Linked DNA regions of Homo sapiens: region 1 is linked to region 2. Evidence: promoter capture Hi-C in 16 types of primary human blood cells and fetal thymus (Javierre and others, 2016). All regions are on one chromosome and are shown on one strand. Each heading gives the region's core, a stretch centred on a gene start or on the middle of the fragment in contact. The rest is flanking DNA. Distances are from core to core; before and after follow the strand shown. Region 1 overlaps NLK (nemo like kinase). Region 2 holds the start of LYRM9 (LYR motif containing 9).

Evidence for each region. Contacts are between HindIII fragments. The CHiCAGO score rates a contact against its expected background, and 5 or more counts as called.
Region 1: a contact is called between a fragment that was not itself captured here and the fragment with the promoter of LYRM9 in region 2, in 6 of 17 cell types (M2 macrophages, megakaryocytes, M1 macrophages and 3 more). The highest score is 11.4, in M2 macrophages.

The regions. Positions count from the first base shown.
Region 1 is chr17:28,162,122-28,167,031 of GRCh38, reverse strand. NLK (nemo like kinase) reads right to left here. Exons shown (of 11, transcript NM_016231.5): 5 at 3,404-3,489. Among named protein-coding and RNA genes, the nearest start is that of NLK, 120 kb to the right of the region's middle. The HindIII fragment of the contact is 2,401 bases long and covers 1,349-3,749 here.
Region 2 is chr17:27,891,278-27,895,647 of GRCh38, reverse strand. It overlaps LYRM9 (LYR motif containing 9), which reads left to right and starts at 2,283. Exons shown (of 4, transcript NM_001076680.3): 1 at 2,283-2,331. RefSeq lists a silencer at 2,102-2,651. The HindIII fragment of the contact is 2,313 bases long and covers 1,051-3,363 here.

The DNA.
Region 1 (4,910 bases), core at 1,300-3,799, 270 kb before region 2:
TCCAAACTTCACATGTACCTATCTATTTAAAATACAAATTCATACTCAAATGTATAAATATGTTAAAATGCAGTATATGGTAGAATACTAATGCTATGGGGTTCATTCATTTCTTCATGCCATAAATATTTAAGTTAGTACTTGTTATATTACAGACTGTATGTTAGAATCTGGAGATACAGCAATAAATAATAAAGACAGGTTAACTTCTATACAAACTTAGAAATAAATCTTTTCTTGCTATTTCTGCTCAACTGAAAAGTATGCTGAGGGTTACAAGGTGAGCTATTAATAAACAGCAGCCGTGCCACCACCAGCAACTACTACTTATCTTTAGGAATTAAAATTTTCTTGATATTGGGCAATCAAAACACAACTAGGAGCACTGAGGATGAGATCAGATAGTAATGGCCATCTAAGCTCCAGTGTTCTCACTGATTAACTTTACAAGTCACAATATTGCAAGTGATAAAATATGATTTTAAATCTGTTTTCTAAATTGAAGTCCCCAAATAAGATTTTATTTGAAAAAGAGTTCCGGCAGCTTAAAAAGAAAATCTGAAAACCCCGTTCTAAAGAAAACAAAATTTATCCCCCAATTTTTGGCAATCCCCTCTTTCTGATTTGAATCTACTATGTCTGGTTACATCAAATGAATTCAGATGTGTATGTGGGAATGAATCAGTATGAAGCCACCATCTTTACAACTTAAGAAAGCAGGAAAATTTTCCATACTATACAGATAAACCATATAACATAACAACAAAAGCCCGAGTTCATCAAATATGTTCAAATAACATATATATATATATATTTTTTGAGACAGTCTCACTCTGTCACCCAGACTGAAGTGCACTGACATGATGTCGGCTCACTGCAACGTCTGCCTCTCAGGTTCAAGTGATTCTCGTGTCTCTGCCTCCTGAGCAGCTGGGACTAGTGGCATGCGCCACCACGCCTGGCTAATTTTTGTATTTTTAGTAGAGACAGGGTTTTGCCATGTTGGCCAGGCTGGTCTCAAGTTCCTGGCCTCAAGTGATCTGCCCACCTCAGCCTCCCAGTGCTGGGATTACAGGCGTGAGCCACTGCGCCCGGCCAAAATAACATATAATATTTTAAAAACTCTATTACTTGGCCATGACTCTTGAGGATATTTTTAAAAACCAAACCAACAAAAGGAAAGAACATAATTTTTTTCTCATATTTATATGAGAAAAACCAACCAACCACCCATCCAACAAAAAAAGGCCTTCTGTTATAAAGCAAATCCCTTATTAAAAACATCAGTATGATTTCGTCATTTTTAGCAACTTATTTGGAAGACAACCTGAGTCCAAAATAGGAAGCTTACATGATCAGATAACTAAAAAAATTCCAGCAAAATTATCCATCTTGTGCTTAATAGGAAACAAAATACATTCACGATATGGAAGGATACTGATTTTTAAAAAATGTTTTGTTATAATGATCTTCAATGAATTTGTATGTTTGAGAAGAAAGAACTAGTGTCTATAGCCTAGACTCTATTCTGGCTTTTTAAAAGTAGGCCCATAAGATGAGTCAAAGGAGTGGAGCAAAATTTGTTTGTTCTGATTTGTGTGTTGTGTATTCACAAATGGCATTTTCCTTTAGTTGCCCATTCATACAGTCCAAGGTTATAAAACCATAACGGACAATTTGGAAAATGAACTTCAAGCAGTTAATGGCATCAAACATGACAGGTCCTGCACAAAATCCTGTGTGAAGTCTTCCAATCAAAAACCAAAATAAGAAGAAATTGGCTTAAACTGTCGTAAGATTGATTAGGTATGAATAGGACAAAAAAATTTCTAACTATAAGGTTTAAATTTTTTTTTTAATTAAAAAACGATTATGGGGATAGGTTGCAAGTTCTCTTTAAAAAGTGAAAAGGTGGCAGGAAAAACTCAATAACCTATAGAAGGAATACTTTAGTAGATTTTGGTGGCAATTAACTTCTCTGTGGAAACAAAAGACTGAATTACAACATCAGCTATTTTTAGGGAAAATATGAAAAATAGGTTTTCATCTTTCTTGAGTTAAAATAAGGGTGAGGGTTCTTCAAGGCTATAATGAAGGGAGAATTTTCATTCATAAGCAGTATAATCCACCAGCTTTTCAAGAGAACTGACCTACAGTTCAGAGAAATCATTTAAAATAAAAAATGAATTTTATTTATACACTTGGTTTTATTACTTAGTTTAACCGCCAGCAACCTAAGTAATAATGATAGTCTTGATTACTTTTAAAGTGGGTAACATTTTAAAAATTTATTTTTCTTTTCAAATATAGCAGTTAAAGGCCCTTATTTCCAATTTCTATTATGAGGAAAAATATAGTGGACCTCTCTCTATTCAAGAGTTCTGCCAATACACATCTGTATTAGAGGTAGGGAAATACAAATATGTGGACTTTGCTATTTGCAAGCCCCTTTTTAAATGAAAGACAATGGCTGTACTAGGGAAGAGAAGTAAAACTGAAACTGATGACTTGAAATTTTGGAACTACTAAATATAATTCTGTAATCAATTCCTCTTCAGAGGAATAATTAAGAATTGGCTACTATACATTATGGAAATACATTGGATAGATGCATATTACCCTTTTCTGGTTTGGCATTTTCACTTTTTTTTTTTTTTTTTTTGAGACAGGGTCTCACTCTGTCACCTAGGTGGAAGTGCAGTGGTGTGATCACAGCTCACTGCAGCCTTCACGCTCTGGGCTCAGGTGATCCTCCCATCTCAGCCTTCTGAGTAGCTGGAACTACAGGCATGTGCAACCACACCTAGCTAATTTTTGAATTTTTTATTGAGATGGGGTTTTGCTGCATTGCCCAGGCTGGTCTTGAACTCCTGGGCTCAAGCAATCTGCCCGCCTCAGCCTCCCAAAATGCTGGAATTACAGGCATGAGCCACCGTGTCTGGCCAGCACTATCCCTTTTAAATATGTTTCTACTTCTTACTTTGCTACCTTGGTCAAACAGCATATAGATATGTTAGCTGTGTAAAAATGTAAATGGTCTTCCTAAAAGTCACACTTCATTCTCTTATATAAACAGATGCTTGCTGTTCTAATATTTCTTCTGATATGCACTTCTTTTAATAATGGAACAAGCTGTAAAGGAGTCACCTTGTCTATTCTTCTTTCTAGTTACACTACAATTCCAATTTCAGTGTTTCTAAAACATAGGCCAAATATCATGAAAAGAACATGAGGCAGGACTACAAATTATTACCATGGCTATGAGTAGTGATATGGAGAAAACTGGGTTAACTTTTGGTAAAGTAATGGAAATGAACTTCTTTCTTTCACAAAAATATGTTGTTCTTAAACCTGCCCTGACATTCTGATTTTTCCCAGGTATTTAAATAAACTGAAAAGCTACCTTTAGAACACAGTTGCTGTTCACAAGGAGATTCCCTGGCTTAATGTCTCGATGTAAAATGCCAGCTGAATGGAGATATTTCAAACCTGAAATAACAAACAGATTTAATTGCAGATATTTAATTCCTTTTACTCAACCAATAATTTAAAAAAAACCTTGGAAGAAAACAGTAGAGGATTTAAAATTGTTCCCTAAATAACTGCATAATGAACATTATTAAAAGCTAGTCCCACCTCAAAATACCGTAATTTTGCTACAGTAAAATAAAATGTCACCAAAGGTTTGCAAAGTCTAGAGATAATGTCTATAATTTAAACAATTATGTAGGTTTAAATACAGATAAGCTTCTTAGGCACTCGAGTTAAGACCATACTAATAACCTTAGATTGCTAGTCAGTGTGGCTATTGGACTGCTGCTATTGATACTCTTAACCTGCAACTCGGAGCCTGCTCCAACAAAACAGTTTCCATTACTACAGGGAGCCTTTCCCAGGACAGATGTTTCACTGATAGAACAAAATTCAGGAACTTGCCCACACTGTCAGTAGTATTCTTTACCGCTCAGAATCAAGAGGGTAATGAACCACTTTAAAAATATTTGTGAAATCTTAGAAGACCAGTGTCTTCATTCAGTACTGCTAAAGGTCCCAGCCTCAAGGTTGAGTCCTTTTTGTGTGCGTTTTTCTTTTTTTCTTTTCTTTTTTTTTTTTGAGACAGGGTCTCGCTCTGTAACCTAGGCAGGAGTGTGGTGGTATGATCACAGCTCACTGAAGCCTCGACCTTCCTGGCTCAAGCCATGCTCCCATCTCAGCCTCCTGAGAAGTGGGAACTACGGGCATGTACCACCATATCCGGCTAATGGGCTGAGTCTTTTTTGGATAAAATGTAGCAAATCACATTTTTCACAAGTACAAAAAGAGCCAATATCTTCCCCATTTTCCCCTACCATAGAATATGAACAAATCTTAGAGGTGAACGTTTTTGTTTTTTTTGAGACGGAGTCTCACTCTGTTGCCCAGGATGGAGTGCAGTGACGCGATCTTGGCTCCCTGCAGCCTCCACCTCCTGGGTTCACTCGATTCTCCTGCCTCAGCCTCCCAAGTAGCTGAGACTACAGGCGAGTGCCACCATGCCCAGCTAAGTTTTGTATTTTTTTAAAGTAGAGATGGAGTTTTGCCATGTTGGCCAGGCTGGTCTTGAATTCCTGACCTCAGATGATCTGCCCGCCTCAGCATCCCAAAGCGCTGGGATTACAGGCATGAATCACCATGCCTGGCCTGGAGGTGAGTTTTTTAGTTTTAATATTGCTTATGTGGCTGGGCGCAGTGGCTCACGCCTGTAATCCCAGCACTTTGGGAGGCCGAGGCAGGAGGATCACAAGGTCGGGAGATCAAGATCATCCTGGCTAATACGGTGAAACCCTGCCTCTACTAAAAATACAAAAAATTAGCTGGGCGTGGTGGCGGGCACCTGTAGTCCCAGCTACTTGGGAGGCTGAGGCAGGAGA
Region 2 (4,370 bases), core at 1,034-3,533:
GGTACCACTCATTCTGTTCTCAGGGAAATCTGAGATAATAGGGAGCAAGATCGAGGGCAGACCGAGGGTCTTAAGTATTTTCTTAAAAGTGTTTATTATGCTTATTAAACCTATTGTACACTGATGAATTAATTTGAATTATTTACATGGTCACCCTTGGAGACAATAACCTGATTTAATCAGAGGATGCAAACGTTATCATTTCTCTTTGAAATCTAAAAACAGGTTTAAACTGGAAACGTCAGGACTTCTTGTATCTTTCCCTACAAATACTGGTTACAAATCTGCAGTTGTCAGGCTAAATGACATAATGTCAGAAATCAAGAGAATGTGGTGTATTTCTTAGGAAAGTCAATAAACTCCCCTGTGCGAACATGTCCCCTGGACAGTGGGTGACTAATTTCTCAAGTAAAAGGTCTTTCTATTTTGTTTATCTGTAAATATCATGCACTGTCTGACATAAGGGGGTTCATCTGCTAAAATTTCAGTGTATAGGAAAATGACATGGTAAAAATGGTTGGGGTTTTATCAGATTATGAGACTGGTGTCATTTTAAGTGAATGTTTGGACTAGTAAAAATTATTTCATTTTACTATTGAAGCTGTAAGAACCTAAGGTTGCTGTCAAGTTGAAAGGTTCAAATTCAATTATTTTCAAATCTAGGTTTCCATTGTGACTTGGAAAAAAAATTAGAGATTATTGTTCAAATCTCTCCTACTTTGGATTTTTTTTTCTTAGTATTTGGATGTTTATAAGAAATTGTTGTGAAAGTTAAAATCTTGTGCGTTTGTAAAATTGGAAGAGGCACAAGTGATTCTGAAGGTGGAGCCTTTCAGAGGTAAAGCAAACAGCTTGCATCTTCAATATTTTATGAGATCTAGGTATTAGAACCATGTTTCTGATGCAGGAATACAGCTATCTAGGAACAAAAGGGAGATGAGACTACAGAACAGACTGTGAAATTTCTTAAAATTATTAAATGATCCTAAGACTGAGCACAGGAGTGGATGATGTTACTGCAGATTGTTCTTAATAAGGGCTTTAAAAGCTTAATGATTTATTGATTGGCTCTGCATTAATGACGTGCCCTTGATTATGCATGTGTAAATAAGAGGGCTGATTTATGAGGGTACAATTGTATCTTTCAGATATATTTGTCCAAGTCTACATCTTTAAAATAAATGGAAGCAATTATCTGAATATTTCAAGGGAGGGAACCCCACCTTCCCATCCCCCACCCCCGATTTGAGGGAAGTCTAGTATGTTAGGTGAAGAGAAAAAAAAAGAAAAGAGGAAGCTCTAAAGGGAGTTAGGAACAAAACAAAACTTCCGTTAAGAAATATCCCTGCTTCTCTTATCCTAAGAGAAGAAAAACAGATTCCCAGGTGCCACCGGGGAGCAATGTTTTACTTAAAAAAAAAAAAAGAAAAAGGAAAAAGAAAAACCTGTAAGAAGTTGTCCTGTTAAATCAACGACACATGGAGTCTGAAGGAAATCAGCCTTTTCGTTACAAACAGGTTTAAAAAGCCCTGGAGAAGAGAGACGTGAACAGAAGCAATATTATCCACTAACAACCTAACTCCCGCTTAGACATCAGCTGAGAGATCAGCAGCATCATTGAACAGGGGGGTTTGTCTTAAGATAATGACTCATCTTGATTTCTTTCAGGATATAAAACTTGTATTTAAATCAATTCAGAGAAGCACTTGAGCTTTAAACATTAGAGAGCAGGGAGAGCCTATTTAATAAACAGCATTATTTCATTTTCAAAGAATGATACTGGCAGTAGCTCTAAGTTTAAATTTTGTATTATTTTCCTCAATTATAATTATAGATGGGTCTGAAAGGAAGCATGCTTATTACTGTCATATTTATTCTTTTGACAGGTGTTATGGGACTGTAATTTGGTGAAATGATTCAAAACGCAGATTCCTATCCAAACACAATTCTTGTCATCAACACGAGAGGTTCAGGAAAAGTCCTCCAGCAAGCCTTTCAGAGATCTTGAACACCCCATATTCATAGCACAATCCATATTCAGGAATAAGGAGGAGAGAGTGCCTTTAGGGCTTATATCCGGCGTAGCAACAGCCAGAAGGCAGAGTGGGTGTTTGAGGTAACAGGTAACGAAGGCTGTTAGTGGGGACAGCTTTCAACTGGGTGGGGTCGGATCTAGGAAGAGGCACCCAGTAGGACCCCGAGTCCCGCGCGCGGCCGGCAGAGGGCGCTGGGCTCACCGTCGCCGGGCAGGGGCGGTGCCGCTCAGTCCCCGGGGCGCAGGCGCACTCGTCGCCGCGGCGGCGTCCGGGGCTGGCGTTCCCCTGGAGGCTGGTGAGCCGCGCTGCGCAGGCCGAGGCCGAGGGCGGGGGCGCGGGGGCAGCGGCGGCCGGAGCCACTGGGTGGCGGGGGCGGGCTAGGGATGTGGAGGCCTCGGGTGTCCTCGGATCTATTGAAGACCTAGGGGCGACCCGCGCCGGCACCTTTTCCCTTGCGGTCTGCGCTCTTCCACCGGAGAGCTGAGTGCACCGGAGCGCGGCGCCCGGGCTTGACGCAGGCCTGGCCGGGCGGCCTCGGAGGAGCAGGAAAGGCCTGCAGCGCGAGCTAGGGGCGCGAGGTCCGGGGCAGCCCGGAGGCCAGCCTCTCAGAGGCTCACGGGCCTGGCCACTTTTAAAAGGAGAATGTCCCCTCCACCGTCCCTCTGCCCGCGGCACCCGGTGGCCGGAGCAACCTTGTCGTGATGATTTATGCTTCTGCGTAAGAGCAAGTTGCTCCGTGGCCAAAACCCTTTCGCTCCTAGGATTGATCCTTTTTGTGGTTATTGTTTTAAAAAGTTTTATTGAGATATAATTCACGAAGCATACAGTTCACCCATCTAAAGTGCACAATTCAGTGTCTTTTAGTGTGTTTGCAGAGTTGTGCAGCTGTCACCATAATGTTTTAGAACATTACCCCCCAAAAGAAACACCTCCTTTAGCTGTCACTCCCCCCTCCCATCTACTCCCATTCTCCCAGCCCTAGGCAACCACCAATGTACTTCTGTCTCTGTACTTTTGCCTATTCTGGATGTTTCGTATAAATGGAATCATACATTAAGTAGCCCCTTGTGACTGGGTTTGTTCACTTAGCGTAATGTTTTCTGGGTTCACCTGCCATAGGTTCTTGACTTCAGGACAGTTTCCTGCTGGCTTTAGTTTCCTCTGGTAACTTGGGAATCAATTGACATCTATGGAACTTCTGTTATGGTTCAGGTACTATAAACTGTGGAGGAGTGACTAATAACCGTATATATATTTTTCTTACTAATTTCCCTTCATTTCACAGGTGTTGAACTAATACAGTATAGTTTCTTGTTCTTCAGAAGCTTACAGTCAGCAAGGAACAGAAAGCCAAATAAAGTAGGAAAGGGTAAGATGTTCAACGCTGGGCGCAGTGGCTCATGCCCATAATCTCAGCACCGTAGGAGGCTGAGGAAAGAGGATCACTTGAGCCTAGAATTTTGAGACCAGCCTGGGCAACATAGTAAGACTTCGTTTCTATAAATAATTAAAAAAATTAGCCAGACGTGGTGGCGTGTGCCTGTGATCCCGGCCACTTGAGAGGCTGAGGTAGAATCGTTTGAGCCCGGGCAGTTGTGACTGCAGTGATCCCTGATCATGCTACTGTACTCCAGCCTGGGTGACAGAGTGAGACCCTGTCTCAGGACAAAAAAAAAAAAAAAAAGATGTTCAAGCACTTAAGATGTGCCAGCCCCTGTGCTAGGCACTTTCCATAAGTTAGCTAGGTTGGTCTTTACAAAACCCCTGTGAGGTGGGTTATTCTTTTCTCCAGTTTACAGTGGGGGAAGCAGAAGTCCAGAGAAGTCAACCAGGTTGGCCAGGATTACACAGCTAGTAGATAGCAGAGGTAGGCTTTTAAACTAGGGTTCTTTGTCTCCAAAACCTGCTCTAAGTTCTGTCACATCGATTATAATCACAATAAGTGATTACAGAGCAGTGTGATGACTGTAATAGGGGTGTGAACAGCATGGGATGAAAGCCTGAAGGAGGTGACAGGGAACTGGATCTCTAAGGATGAAGGGGAATTCTTGAGGCAGGTGAAGAAGTCAAGGTAGGGGAAAGCACAGCATGTTTCAGAGATGGTATTAACAATAACAGTTAGTAGGAAACATGTAGTGTGTGCCAGGCATCATGCTTAGTAGTCTAGGAGCGTTATTTCATCCTTACAACAGTCCTATGTAGGAAATACTATTTATTAGGGACCGCATTGACAGATGGGGAACAGACTTCGAGATAGAAGTTAAGAAACTCGTCCAGGGTCCTAGAACTAGCAGGTGATAGAACCAGGATTTGAACCCAGACTGTCTGATCCCA